5 separate regions of the Homo sapiens genome follow, and all the other regions are linked to region 1. Evidence: promoter capture Hi-C in 16 types of primary human blood cells and fetal thymus (Javierre and others, 2016). All regions are on one chromosome and are shown on one strand. The core of a region is centred on a gene start or on the middle of the fragment in contact, and the rest is flanking DNA. Distances in the headings are between cores, read along the strand shown. Region 1 holds the start of MOS (MOS proto-oncogene, serine/threonine kinase). Region 2 overlaps TMEM68 (transmembrane protein 68). Region 3 overlaps TMEM68 (transmembrane protein 68). Region 4 overlaps TGS1 (trimethylguanosine synthase 1). Region 5 overlaps TGS1 (trimethylguanosine synthase 1).

The links. The method cuts DNA at HindIII sites, captures the fragments that hold promoters and counts their contacts. A CHiCAGO score of 5 or more calls a contact.
Region 2: a contact is called between a fragment that was not itself captured here and the fragment with the promoter of MOS in region 1, in 1 of 17 cell types (neutrophils). The highest score is 5.1, in neutrophils.
Region 3: a fragment that was not itself captured here is called in contact with the fragment with the promoter of MOS in region 1 in 2 of 17 cell types (total B cells and neutrophils); the score reaches 6.9 in total B cells.
Region 4: a fragment that was not itself captured here is called in contact with the fragment with the promoter of MOS in region 1 in 1 of 17 cell types (total B cells); the score reaches 5.5 in total B cells.
Region 5: a fragment that was not itself captured here is called in contact with the fragment with the promoter of MOS in region 1 in 1 of 17 cell types (naive B cells); the score reaches 5.6 in naive B cells.

What each region holds. Positions count from the first base shown.
Region 1 is chr8:56,112,501-56,115,476 of GRCh38, forward strand. MOS (MOS proto-oncogene, serine/threonine kinase) reads right to left here and starts at 1,482. Exons shown (of 1, transcript NM_005372.1): 1 at 442-1,482. The coding sequence starts at 1,482. The coding sequence ends at 442. RefSeq lists an enhancer at 861-1,361. The HindIII fragment of the contact is 4,963 bases long and covers 1-2,976 here.
Region 2 is chr8:55,741,950-55,744,925 of GRCh38, forward strand. TMEM68 (transmembrane protein 68) reads right to left here. Exons shown (of 8, transcript NM_001286657.2): 7 at 1,532-1,671. Among named protein-coding and RNA genes, the nearest start is that of TMEM68, 30 kb to the right of the region's middle. The HindIII fragment of the contact is 6,352 bases long and covers 1-2,976 here.
Region 3 is chr8:55,763,235-55,766,210 of GRCh38, forward strand. It overlaps TMEM68 (transmembrane protein 68), which reads right to left. Exons shown (of 8, transcript NM_001286657.2): 2 at 702-746. Among named protein-coding and RNA genes, the nearest start is that of TMEM68, 8.7 kb to the right of the region's middle. The HindIII fragment of the contact is 1,101 bases long and covers 1,012-2,112 here.
Region 4 is chr8:55,781,408-55,784,383 of GRCh38, forward strand. TGS1 (trimethylguanosine synthase 1) reads left to right here. Exons shown (of 13, transcript NM_024831.8): 2 at 1,341-1,405. Among named protein-coding and RNA genes, the nearest start is that of TGS1, 9.4 kb to the left of the region's middle. The HindIII fragment of the contact is 456 bases long and covers 1,243-1,698 here.
Region 5 is chr8:55,802,100-55,805,075 of GRCh38, forward strand. TGS1 (trimethylguanosine synthase 1) reads left to right here. Exons shown (of 13, transcript NM_024831.8): 9 at 358-507; 10 at 2,794-2,937. Among named protein-coding and RNA genes, the nearest start is that of TGS1, 30 kb to the left of the region's middle. The HindIII fragment of the contact is 2,479 bases long and covers 154-2,632 here.

The DNA.
Region 1 (2,976 bases), core at 232-2,731:
GGGGGAGTAGTAGGAAAGCATTACTTATTTTTTTAAAAGTTTTTACTGATTTGGTGTGGGAGCAACTACACCATTAATAGTTGGAATTTATGTGGTAGGTATGGGATATATATGGATTTATAGAAAATTTTGACATTTCTGCAGTGGAGTTCTATTTTGGACAAACTTTTATCAATAACAAATTTAAATAAATGAAATACTAGCAATGGAAAGCAAAGCACATGACTATATGAATAAGATTAGTTACTAACAGTACTGAGACAACAGGTACTAGACTTGTAGCTTTGCTAATGTGTCCTAGAAAAAGCACTGGAGACTAAAGGAGTTTTTAGTAACTTTATTTTCTAAAACTCCATCCTACAAATATGTTTTCTTCGACATCTCCACTTCCTTTAAAAACAAATAGAATCAGACAAAAACTTATCTTGACCAGGTTTTCAGTCAGCCGAGTTCAGCTTTCAAAGAGGTGAGATCCACCAAAAGCAGCCGCGCGCTCGGCCTCTGCGCCGCGCTGGGTCTCCAGCAGCGCTGGATGACGTCCCCAAGGCGCTGCCCGGGGAGCGAGTCCTCGAAGACGGCAGCGGAGAGGGACGGGCGCAGGTCGTAGGCCACCACCGCGTACAGTATGTGCTGCCGCTCCCCCGAATACGGCGCCTGCTTGGTAGTCATTTGCCAGAGAGTGATGGCAAAGGAATAAATGTCGGCTTTAGGCGTCACGCCCTCTCCTTTCAGGAGCTCCGGGGCGCGGTGGGTGTATGTGCCTCCTAGAGGGTAAGAGGGTGTCTGGAAGCACAGCAGATCTTCCAACTTCTCAGAGCAACCGAAGTCACTAATTTTACAGACATCCTGCTCACTGATCAAGATGTTCGCGGGCTTCAGGTCCAAGTGCACAATGCTTTGCGAGTGGAGGAAGAGCAGGCCGTTCACAACATCTAGTGAGTACTTGAGACACTTTCCCAAACTTAACTGTCCTCCAGTGCGGCAGTGAGGCTCCCCTGCGTCCCCCTCAGGGTGGCCGGCGGCGCCATAGATGACTTGGTGTAAAGTGACGTTGCCACCGAACTCCATGATGATGGTCCCTAGGCTATTGGACCCTGCGGGCGTGCGCGTGCTGGCAGCCACCACGCGCACGATGTTATCGTGGCGCAGCCTTGCTACGTTGAGCTCAGCCCAGAAACTCCGCCGAGATGCTAGTCGGTTCTTGGTGCACTTGTTCACTTGCTTTATGGCCACAGGAACACCGCGGTAAGTCGCCTTGTACACCGAGCCAAACCCTCCAGCTCCCAGCCTCTGCAGCAAGCACACCTGCTCCCAGTCAATGGAGCACCAGGCCAGCCGGCGCGGCAGCCGCGGGGCCCGAGGAAGAGTGGCCCCCAGAAGCAGCTTCGCAGGTAGCTCTGAGGGACTGCTGCAGGGCCGCGCGTCCACCGATGGGGAAAACTCGCTCCGGAGGTAGGGGCGTAGGGCCAGGGGCGAGGGCATCGCACTTTGCAGGGGGACACCAGGGCCGCTGGAGTGAATGAAGAGACTAGGGGAAACCGCGGGACTTTGGAAACATGACTGACTACTCCTTCGCTCCACCTCATCCCTTTTCTCCTTTTCCTTCACTTGTTCCAAATGAGCTACATCTGTGCTGTCACTCAGCAAGAGTTTTTATCAGATGGAGGGAGAAACCGGAATGAAGCACAGCTATCCCTTTCAGATGAAAGCATTTCCCTTCCACACTTGAAGTGAATTCTTATAAAAACAAGCTCATGCCAGACAAACAGCATGGAGCTGCCTCAGAACTCACCCCTCTTTTACATTATTTCTTAAATTATAATAAAATACGTTTTTTTCAAGTCTCATCCGCTGCACATTATCAGTCCTCAGACTAAAGAGACCACAAAGCACAATGAAATTGTTTCACACTTTGCAGGCTGTAATGATTGTTAGTGTCATTCTCCAGCTGCATTAAATCACTTCCAGCAGGTATTGGCTAAGAGTTAAAATGCAAACAGCAGACATTTGTTTAACCAATTACAGGGAAAAACTAGGTGCAACATTCATATGGATAAAAAATTGCAACCTTAATCAATCCAAATAGAATCACTGATACAGGTCATAACACACACCTAAATTCATCAGTGGAAAGGAGAATCCCCTGACACTCTATGCAGCTTACACAGCAAATTAGCAAGACATCTTAGCAACATACTGACTTCCTAACAATCCTTCCCTTCCAAGGCGATTTGGCCCAACCGGTCAGCTCACTTGCAAGAGAGATTCTAGACTTCGTAGCAAATGAGTTACCGAAGTTTTGAACCAGAGTTGGGGGAGACAAAAGAATAGAAATGATTCAGAGCTGTGATCAGGGCTTCAAATAATAACACATATGGGAGAATTGTAGAAGAGGAAAAATCTGAAGAAATAAAAATGGCACAAAATCACTGGTACCTACATATAATGTAGAAAACCAGAAGTTGGAATGAAATTCAGGGTATTGGCCATCAGACAATAAGATCTTTCTTTCTGATTTTTATAATGAAAATTAATTTTCTACCAAGTGCAGTGAGTTATGCCTATAATACCAGTGCTTTGGGAGGCTAAGGTGGAAGGGCCACTTGAGGCCAAGAATTTGAGACCTGCCTCTACAAAAAATAATAATAAAGTTAGCTGAGTGTGGTGGTGCACTCCTATAGTCCTAGCTACTTTGGAGGCTGGGGCGGGAGGAGACTTGAACTGAGGAGTTTGAGGCTATAGTGAGCTATGATCGTGCCACTGCACACCAGGCTGGATGATGGAGCAAGATCCTGACTCTAAGCAAAAAATTAATTTCATACCATATCTTTGGAAAAAGGACCAATAATATTACCATATTCATGAGAAAACACACACACACAAAAGTGTTAGGATCTATATTTTAAAAAATCAAATGGTAAAGTTCCCTTCTTCTAAAGCACTTATGTGTTAGGTTATGTGTAACCACATTTTAAT
Region 2 (2,976 bases), core at 301-2,800, 370 kb before region 1:
GGAGGCTGAGATACGACAATCACTTGAATCTGGGAGACGGAGGTTGCATTGAGTCGAGACTGCACCACTGCACTGCAGCCAGGGTTACAGAGTAAGACTGTCTCAAAAAGGAAAGAAAGAAAAGAGGGAAATCCTATCACGTGATACAACATAGATGAACCTTGAGGACATTATGTTAACTGAAATAAGTCAATGACAAAAAGACAAATACCGTATGATTTCACTCATATGAGGTATCTAAAGTGGTCAAAGTCTTAGAAAAGTAGAATGGTGGTTGCTAGGAGCTGGAGGAAGGGGAAATGGGAAGTTGGTGTTCAACAGGTATAGTCCGTTTTGCAAGATGAAAAAATTCTAGAGACCTGTTGCTCAATAATGTGAATGTACTTAACAGTACTGAACTGTATGCTTAAAAATGGTTAAGATAGTACATGTATGTGTTTTTACCATAATTTGTTTTACTATGTTTTACCATATTATGTGTTTACCATATGTTTTACCATAATGTTTTTACCATAATTTATATTTTAAAATATAAATCAGACTATATATATACCAAAGACTATATAAAAGTCATAATCAAAATATAATCATCCCATTTTATTTTTTGAGAGACAGTGTCTCACTCTGTTGCCCAGGCTGGAGTGCAGTGGCACAATCATAGTTCACTGTAACCTTGACCTCCTGGCTTCATGATATCCTCCTACCTCAGCCTCCCAAGGTGCCGGGATTACAAGTGTGAGCCACCAAGCATGGCCCATTCATCCCATTTTCTAAGTGATTCAGTTAACATAACATTTATTGCATTTAACAAGAATGGGGTAAAAAAGAAAAAAAGGAGAACATGACATTTGTAGGGTTTTTTTTTTTTTGTAGTTTTATACTCTCTGAAAGTATAATTATGAGGCAGGCAGGCTTTTCTCCTCTTTATCCTCCTTCATCTCTTTGCAAAAACTAACATTACTGACCATTCCCACTTTTTACTAAAACCTCACCTGCTGACTTCTGTCACACAAATTTACTTGTTCTCTTACCTCTCTGCCAGTTCTCTTTCAGTCAGCTCTGGCACTTCTTCGTTGGCCTTCTCCTTCAGTGCTACATCTCCTGAAGTCTGTTCTCAGCACTTTTCTTTCTTTCTCACCTGCCTTGTAAAGCTCATGGCTTAAGTAACTGTCTCAGTGCAAATGACTGAAATCTCCATCATCAATTCTGACTTTCTCCCAAACTCCAGTCCAATATTTCCAAAAACCTATGCATAGGAATATATTCCTATCCTACAAGTTACCATAAATTCTATCACTGGCCCCCACCCACTAAATGTCTGTAGCACTCCCCTCACGGCCCCAACTCCTGCCTGTAGTGACAATAAGTCTCCAGGGATTAGCAAATGTTCCCTAGGGTATACAATCACCTCTGGTTGAGAACCACTGACCTAGACATGCTTGTAGAATATAAAAATAAATCAATGAGATTCAAAATATAATAATTGAAAATAAAAATCTGTCCTAAAACTAAAAAAGAAAAAGCAATTTACCTTTTCAGCTAATTCTTCCGCTGTTATCTGTGGGTCATACGGAATGGGGTCGCCTAAATAGGTCCGTAACTTCACTGGAAAACCTCCATACATTGGAGCAAATGGATAGCGGAATTTTTCATAAAGCCACCTAAATAACCCTGTTTTAGAGTAAATACAATCATTTTAACTTGTTAAGTATTCTGACCATGTAACTGTAAACTTTCAAATTAATTATGTAGGACTTACAGGAAGGTGGCAAAAAGTATCACTTCTTGGCAATTAATACAATTTTTTTAAAAAGAAGAGCTTTTCATCAATTTTAACAAATATATCACACCAATGCAAGATATTAATAATAGGAGAAACTAGGGGATGGTGAGAAGATTTATGAGAACTCTCTGTACTTTCTATAAACATAAAAATGCCCCCCAAAAAAGTTTATTAATTATTTTTTAAAATGAGCTTTTAAAGTACAGGAATTAAACAAAAATAAGTAAACAATGAATAAATAAAAATAAAATACAGTAATTTTAAAAGGCAAACAAGTTACTATTATTGCAAAACAAAGGCTAAACTGCTACCAAACTACTAGAGGTGAAAAAGTCTATAGAGTCTCACAAATAAGTAACTTAGATAAATAAAAGACCAAAAAAAGGAAGAATAAATTTATGTAAATATGAGACTATAATGCAAAATAAACTAGGTAAAGACAAAATAATATTATGAATTAGGAAAAACACATCAAAGCAAATAACTACTAATACTAATGACCAAACATGAAATTTACCAGGATTAAATAAAAGTGGTAGTAATATAAAAACAAACTGACAGACTAAATTTTTTTTTTTTTTTTTTTTTTTTGAGACGGAGTCTCGCTCTGTCGCCCAGGCTGGAGTGCAGTGGCACGATCTCGGCTCACTGCAAGCTCCTCCTCCCTGGTTCACGCCATTCTCCTGCCTCAGCCTCCTGAGTAGCTGGGACTATAGGTGCCCGCCACCACACCTAGCTAATTTTGTTTGTATTTTTAGTAGAGACGGGGTTTCACCACGTTAGCCAGGATGGTCTCAATCTCCTGACCTTGTGATCCACCCACCTCGGCCTCCCAAAGTGCTAGGATTACAGGCATGAGCCACCGCTCCCGGCCGCTACAAAATATTTTTAAAAACAACAAGAAGTGACAAATAAACCAAAGCAAATGCTATTTCCTTAGGTAGTTAATCTTAGTTCAATATCATATTTTCATCCATTTTTAAAGCTGTAACTTCTGGGGTGAGTTAAAAAGATTGTTGGGATAGTTTGTAAATGTATTCTAAACCTTGTCACCATGGTTTAAAACAATAAACTAGCTAATTCACTGTGAAGTTTTTAAAAGCCCATTTGAAGAACTTCAGTGTGTATATGTACTCTCAACAAAAATTCAGCATTAAGAACTGTCATTACGTAGAACTAGTTATCATTTGGAC
Region 3 (2,976 bases), core at 312-2,811, 350 kb before region 1:
TTCACTATAATTGAGAGAAGAAAATAAAGCTATAATTAAGAGAAGAAAATAAAGCTGATGAGGAATATAATTTCAGATTGATTTTAATAATTTGACTCACATCTTAATTGGATCATGTTGAAAAATTAGATCTTAAACCAGGTCACATTGAGATAATTTTTTTTTCTTCTTTGAGATGGAGTCTCACCCTTTTGCTCGGGCTGGAGTACAGTGGCACGATCTCAGTCACTGAAACCTCTGCCTCCCAGGTTCAGGTAATCCTCCTGCCTCAGCATCCCGAGCAGCTGGGACTACAGGCATGTGCCACCATGCCTGGCTAATTTTTGTATTTTTAGTAGAGACAGGGTTTCACTATGTTGGCCAGGCTGGTCCCAAACTCCTGACCTCAAGTGGTCCACCCACCTCAGCCTCCCAAAGTGCTGAGATTACAGGCATCAGCCACCATGCCCAGCCATATTGAGATAACTCTGCACAAAAGAAAACATCAATATCTACCTAATTCAGTAAAAGTAACCCAATTCTTTACGAAATGATTACATACATTAATGGATATTGTTTTTTTATAGAGAAACAGATTTACAAAAGTTCATTATGCAATAAAAATTTATCAGTACTGTTTTTATCTTAAATCTTAAATGACTGAAAATATAGCTGTATAATTATTTTACAAATTCACTCTCTAAAACAGTCATTGGACTTACCAGAAGTTAGATAAATATCTTGTCCCAAACTTCAATGTCTCTATTCTGGAAAGCACAGTAAACAAATGTAAGAAATAAATTACTAAGAAAAAAAAAGATAATCATTAATACCTAGAGTTAGCATTTCTATAAAATAAACAGCAAGAGACATTCATAAATGTTTAAGAAATATGATTATAGGCCCACACTGGTATATTACAATTAAAAAGTACACTCATGCTACCATTGCTTTGGTGAAGACAACTCTACACTGTTTAGTGCCACTATATAGAGCCCCACCTAAGAATTTATTTTAAACAAAGTTTTCAAAAGCTTTGTTTCTTAGGAGAAAAAGTATGAAGATATATAACTGACTATGATTCTTTTTAGTAACTTTGCCAGATAACCTGAAGGTGAAACATAACATTCAATTATACAATTATATTAGCCCTATGATAATATTTTCCTACAAAAGATTTCCTTTCTCCATACTTTGATTGTATTCTTAGAACTATTTTATCATTATTCCATACTATATAATCTTACTGAAAATTATCTCAAGTCCTTTGTAGCTGAGGCAAAAAATGAATAAATGAAAGCAAAGGATGAAAGGAGAGGAGGAGATGTACATATAAGAAAAATGTATTGTTTTTATTCTAAGATTATCTTGCTAACTGGCTTATTAGGAGGGCAGGCACTGACTTGTTCTCCCAGGAATGAAACATTTCATCTAACTTCCTTGTAACCAATAGCATTTACTTGTGAGAAATCTGGTCTGTTATGGTTACAGGAGATGAACATAGCAAACATTGAGCCCACAACTTGGGCTTTATTTACATCATCATCTAATCAATCCATATAAAAAGTCAAATCACCAGCTGGGCGCAGTGGCTCACTCTTGTAATCCCAGCACTTTGGGAGGCCAAGGCAGGTGGATCACCTGAGGTCGGGGGTTTGAGACCAGCCTGACCAACATGGTGAAACTCCATCTCTACTAAAAATATAAAATTAGCTGGGAGTGGTGGTGCACGCCTGTAGTCCCAGCTACTCGGGAGGCTGAGGCAGGAGAAACGCTTGAACCTGGGAGGCGGAGGTTGCAGCGAGCCGAGATTGCACCATTGCACTCCAGCCTGGACAACAAGAGTGAAACTCCGTCTCAAAAAATAAAAATAAAAAAAGTCAAATCACTATAATTTACCCATGTTTGATCATTTAGAATGCAACATAGCAACCATCCATCAGAACTACTAAAAAGGTCTTCCTTATACTTAACTTCCCCGTAACTTTTCCCTACTGGACCTAGTTTTGTACCACAGACCCTCTTCCATTAAACAACCTTGTAAGTTTAAAAACAGCTGCCATGAGCCACAAAATTCCTTCTCCAGTCAGAATCCTTAATTCTTTCAACTACTTCTCAGCCCCTGGTTTCTTAAGCTTTCAGCACTCAAGACCACTCCGAGTTGCTGACTCCAGTTATCTGATACTGACAACACCATGTACGGTAACCCCTGTGCCTCCGTTTGCTAAAACCTATAAAACTAGGATAATAATCCTAACTACCTCATGAGATTACTGTGATTACATGGGCTAATCTGTGTAAAGAGCCTAGAATACCTTACATGTAATCAGTGTTACATGTTTGCTATCGCTATCATTCATAGAATCACAGCAGCTTTTTTGGTAACTCGATCATACTGACTCATTCAGCTAAAAATATGCTACTATTTTCTACATCTCTACAAACTACACTTGAAAAAAACCTTTTTGAGCCCAGCAAAGATTATACATCTCATCTGCTTATTAACTTTCATGAGGTGGGCTAAGACATAGCCTATCCTTTCAGTCTGTTTCGGGAACACAGTGGATGACATGAATGGGCTTAGGAGCCAGACTGAACATACTGGAATACTGGCTTTACAATCTTAAGCAAGTTACACCTCTCTGTGTCTCATTGTTTCTCTGAAAATGAAGATGATAAATCATTCTATAAAGACCTATTTAGCACCTATGTACCCTAATATGTACCACCCATTTCCTCAGCAGCAAATAAAGCAAAGTCTACAACCTCAAGTGACTTACATCCTAGAGGGGGAAGATAGACAGTAAACAAAGAACTAGTAAATACATGCTAGGTCAGATGATGACAGGTGCTAGGGAGAAAGATAAACAGCAGTGTAAGAAGAATATGGAGTTCTATGTCAGGCACGGGAGTAGGGGAAAGGAGGAGGTTGCTATGTTATATAAGGCATTCTGGGAAGACTTCTCTAAAAGATATTTTTCAGCAGAAACCTGAGGG
Region 4 (2,976 bases), core at 221-2,720, 330 kb before region 1:
AAAATAATAAAGTAAATAAGTAACCTTCAACAAGGGGAATCTTGGCTAACATTATCTTCAACACATTTACATATTTGCTCATTATAACCAACTTGCAACCAACCATACTGGTCCTCTCCTCCACCTGACACTTCAGTGCCTCATATCTTTAGGTGCTGGCGGGCAGACCAGTGATGCCCCCTGTGCAGCTCCTGCTTCCCACCCCCAGTGCCCATGTTCCTGGGGACCAGTTGCTGCCAAAGCACATTTGCACGTCACCCCCTTGCCTGTTCATCATCCTGCTGAGTCACCACCTACTTTACATTTAATATAGTATCTCCAAAAAAGAAGCAAGAGGATGTGAAATAGAGCAAGTACACTAGAATTTTATTTAGTTAAATTTATTGTAGCTCCATTAGAAAAGTTATGTTAGCTTCCACTTGCAATTGGCCTTCTTGTGGCAGTTACAGTGGAGTTTATTACAGCTGAATTTATAGTCAGGAAGATATTAAAAGCAGAGTCTTCCACTTTTTCTTAAGTATTCTGTTAGGTTTATTTTGGTAACCTTTGCTCAGACCATGAATACCTTGTCTACTGTTCACAATGGATAGTTTGTCTTATTAGCAAATGGATTAGTGTCTGCATATTGATTTATATGTATGTAAGCTAAATCTCTCCACTGTTATTCACAACAAAATTTAGAGAACACCCCATTGTTTATGTATCATAAGGAATATCAGATGTCCAGAAGAACTTACACTTTATTTATTTATTTATTTATTTATTTATTTATTTATTTATTTATTTATTTTGAGATAGATTTTTGCTCTTGTCGCCCAGGCTAGAGTGCAGTGGTGTGATCTCAGCTCACTGCAACCTCTGTCTCCCGGATTTAAGCAATTCTCCTGCCTCAGCCTCCCTAGTAGCTGGGATTGTAGGCGCCTGCCACCACGCCCAGCTAATTTGTGTTTTCGATAGAGATGGGGTTTCATCATGTTGGCCAGGCTGGTCTCAAACTCCTGACCTCAGGTGATCTGCCCACTTCAGCCTCCCAAAGTGCTGGGATTACAGGTGGGAGCCACTGTGCCCAGCCTTAATTTTAGTAACTAGCAGTTATAGTAATAAATGCTACCATGTATTAAGCATTGTGCTAAATATTTTACATATACTATCAGTCCTTACAACAACTCCATGACAAATGTATTATTGCCTCTACATTATAAGTGAGGGAAATGTATTAGCAGATTGCTTTTCTGTTTCATAAGCTTTTTATTAATTAATCTATGATGGCTCGAGATTTCTTTCCCTCTAAACTGATGGCTTAATTCATTTCAATATGAACTGCTTAATCTGCTTCGCAGGGATCGAAAATTGTACAATTTGGGATTAAAAGGCTATTACATCAGAGACAGTGGCAACAATTCAGGTAATATAGTATAAAATTCTATAAACCTTTTTTGCTGAAATTAGCCATAATGTGTTAATTTATGTATAATTTGTTATAATATTGTATTGATTTGTTAGCATAAAATATAAATGCCAAATAATTCTGTAATCAGACAATTTTTATTTTCTTTTATAACATGGTTCTGGAATCTCTATGAAAGCAGATCTTTTATTTTTCTATAGCTCCTGTGCTGACTTAATGTAGCCTCTTTTGCTGTGTGTAGTGTTCCTTCCTGAGTTGCCACCATTAGATAAGAGCAACCTGGAATTTAAAGCTTTGAAAAGTAGGGAATATGTGGTTTCTGGCTGGACGTGGTAGCTCATGCCTATAATCCCAGCATTTTGGGAGGCCAAGGCAAGCAGATCACTTGAGGTCAGGAGTACGAGACCAGCCTGGCCAACATGGTAAAACCCCATCTCTAATAAAAATACAAAAATTATCCAGGTATGGTGGTGGGCACCTATAATCCCAGCTACTCAGGAGGCTGAGGCAAGAAAATCCCTTGAACCCAGGAGGCAGAGTTTGCAGTGAGCTGAGATTGTGCCACTGCACTCCAGCCTGGGCAACAGAGTGAGACTCCATCTCCAATTTAGAATATGTAAATTCTAATCATAATACACTTCATGAGAAGTGTATTATGTAGGTAAATGCTGCAGGATAAAAAAATGCTACGGGATAAAAATTCCAGGTGAACATCTATAGTCTTTTGCCTGAAGTAAAGAGACTGTCATCTTGGTTAACTTTCCCAAGTAACAAATATAATTTATACTGTACATTGAGCCTCACTTTGATGTCTCAAACTTCCCTACTGCATTTGTCCTTCCACATAGACCTTTTGTGTTCCTAGACACAGAGAAAATTACAGCGTGGAGTTAGAAGCCAAAGTCAGCCCAAGTACAGTGTCATAGTTACCTTCGGAAACCCTTTAACTCTCATGGCGATGGAACAAATTACTGTTTCTTCAGTTGATCACTGGATGGAATGTTTGGTTTGTGTTTCAGTGCTATGCTATACAAATAAAGTTCCTATAACACTAGGCTCCTCGAGCATAAGAAAATATGCATACAATGAAAGGAACATAAAACTTAGCTTACTCATTTTCTCCATTTTGCTGTCTCCTGAGCTTTCGTAAGTATATTTGAATGGAGTAGTGAGTGGAATCCCCTTCATTATTTAGAAAGGTATCTTTCTCCCTCTTGTAGCAGAATTTGCACACAAGAGATTTCTCTTTATCAGTCTTCATTTTGGCTATATAAGATTTACTGTTCTGTTGCCTGAGACCATCAAGCTGGAGTGCAGCCCAATGCTAATTGAGTGTGCTAATACATAAAATGATTTTTTGTTATCTCACATTTTAAAGTTAATAGAGCACTTGAATGGCATATGTTCAATTAATGGTATAATTACTATTAGATAACCATATTGGTGTAAAGTAAAACTTACTTTGTTGTAATAAATGGTTTTTCTATAAGAATTAGATTCAGAGAGCTTGAAAAAAATCTTCCAGTTTAGGGGATTTCAAACCTTTCTCTTTTTGAGAGAGAGAGAGG
Region 5 (2,976 bases), core at 143-2,642, 310 kb before region 1:
AGGAGAATGGTGTGAACCCGGGAGGCGGAGCTTGCAGTGAGCCAAGATCGTGCCACTGCACTCCAGCATGGGTGACAGAGCCAGACTTCGTCTCTAAATAAATAAATAAATGAATGAATGAATGGAGCTTAAAGACCCTCGGTTACTTTCCCAAGCTTACAAAGCCAATAAGTAGCAAAATGCTGGTGGTGATTGAAGCCAGTGGCGTTTCCATCAGGCTCTCCTGTTTCTCTGGGCGTGTCATTATATACATGTTCTGCTTGTAATTATTTGATGTGGCTTCATTTTTAGATAAACTCACCTGTGATACTAATTTTTTTCTTAGTGAGCATCTATATTCTTTGTATTTTATTTTAGCTGAAGTGAAAAAGAAGAAGAACAAGAAGAAGAACAAAAAGGTGAATGGTCTGCCTCCTGAAATAGCTGCTGTTCCTGAGCTGGCAAAATACTGGGCCCAGAGGTACAGGCTCTTCTCCCGTTTTGATGATGGGATTAAGTTGGACAGAGGTAAAGTATATATGTATTTTTTAGCTTTATTTTGAAACCACTTCAAACTTAAAAAGAAAGTTATAAGAATAATACAGGGAATGTTCATATCCCCTTTACCCAGATTCAGCTATTTTCAACATTTTGCCCCGTTTACGTTCTCATTCTCTCTCCATATGTATGTGTGTGTATCTTTTTCTGATCAGTACTTAACACACATCATGCTCATACTTCTTAATACTTTAGTGTATATTTGCTAAGGACAAGTATATTTTTGTTTAAAATAGTGAATTATCAACTTAACATTGTTCCAATATTTTAATCTACAGTTTATACTCTAATTTCATTAATTGTCCTAATCTTGTCCTTTATCACGTTTTTTTTTTCCTTCCAGTATAGGATCATGTATCATTGCGTTTATTTTTCAAGTTCTTTAGTTGCCTTTAATGTGGAATGTTTCCTTAGCCTTTTTTGTCTTTCATGACTGACATTTTTCAAAGGATCAATGGCCATTTATTTTATAGGATGCCCTTCAATTTGGGGGGGTGTGTGTGTGTGTGTGTGTATTTTTAAAATTTCAGACTTGGGTTTAATCTGTATTTGTAGCACGTTAGGATAGATAGCAAAAGCAATTGATAAATTATTAAACAGAAAACCTGATGAAGAAATATCTAGTGCAGAAGGATACAATTTAATGAATTAACTTCGCAAATTTTGAATTCTTTCTCCAGCTTTCCTGCTGTGATCTGCAACAGCTTACTTAACTCAGTCTTGCAGACTGATGCTCGTTTTCATATTGGGGTTACCTAAATATTGGTTTTTATTAACTATCAAAATCAGAAGTTCTTGATCTATGATGGAATTTCAGGGGTTCTCTGACCCTTTTAAAACAATTTGCAAAATGCTGTGTATTGGAAAAAGTACGTAGGAATTTGTAAGGAGAAATAAGGCTGGAAAACACTTGCAATTCTATAAAAGTGTATATTCTTATTTTTCCAGTATTGAAGAGCCATTTAAAGTTTTGGTAAGGGGAGACAACAGGAAAATTAACGCACATTATTTTTATTTATTTATTTTTCTTTTCTTTTCTTTTTATTTTTTCTTTTCTTTTTTTTTTTATTTTTTTTAGACAGGGTCTCACTCTGTCACCCACGCTGGAGTACAGTGGCACAATCTTGGCTCAGCAACCTCCACCTCCCAGGCTAAAGCAATCCTTATGCCTCCGCCTCCTAAGTAGCTGGGATTACAAGCAAGCACTACCATGCTTGGCTAATGTTTTGTAGAGACAGGGTTTTGCCATGTTGCCCAGGCTGCTCTCAAACTCCTGTGCTCAAGTGATCCACCACGCCCAGCCCAGCACATCATTTTGTTCAGATAATTGTCTTTCTGAAAAATGTAAATTTTTTCTACTAGGAAAGAAGGAGGTCAGTATTCTCTTTACTCTAGAGTGGACACAGGACCTCATTTCTGACAATGATGAGGGCTCTGCTATTCCTCCTGTACTTCTGCAACCCTATGGCCTTTTGCCATCCAGTTCCTTGCTTTTTCCGACCCTTTAAAAGCATGCAGTTTTGGCCAGGCATGGTGGCTCATGCCTGTAATCCCAGCACTTTGGGAGGCTGAGGCAGGCAAATCACTTGAGGCCAGGAGTTCAAGACCAGCCTGGCTAACATGGCAAAACTCTGTCTCTCCTAAAAATACAAAAATTGGCTGGGCATGGTAGCGTGTGCCTGTAGTCCCAACTACTCAGGAGGCTGAAGCATGAGAATTGCTTGAACCCAGGAGGCGGAAGTTGCAATGAGCCAAGATCATGCCGTTGCACTCCAGCCTGGGCAACAGAGCAAGACACTGTCTCCAAAAAAAAATGGAGTTTTTTCTGGAGTGTCCAATACAAATCCAGGCTATTGCTTCAACCTTAGGAGTGAAATAATTGGGAAACTCAGCGGAGTGTGGGGGAGCTAGCCAATTAGAGCAGCTAGTTCTCTATTTTCCACAGGAGTCAGTAGTTAAAGCCTCAAAGAGAAACATCAAAATTGTAAATTCAGTTATTGGAAAGATGGAGGTATACAGTATTACAAAAGAATTAGGTTAAGAATTGAGGTCATCATTTCTGTGGAAATTGGGAATGGTACTGCTTTTTATAACAAGCTTTGAATTTTTTTCTTTAAAACTGGGTGATTTATAATTTTTTAAAAAGGGAAACTAAGCTTTTTAAAAGTATGTAAGATATAGTAATGTTTGCTATGTTTATGCTTGCCTTGGCTTCTTGAAATTGAACATGCTAACACAAATACTCTTCCTTTGCAGAGGGCTGGTTTTCAGTTACACCCGAGAAGATTGCTGAACACATTGCTGGCCGTGTTAGTCAGTCCTTCAAGTGTGACGTTGTAGTAGACGCATTCTGTGGAGTTGGAGGAAATACCATTCAGTTTGCCTTAACAGGAATGAGAGGTAATTAGCCATCAATGGAAGTGAACTATTTTATGTCCA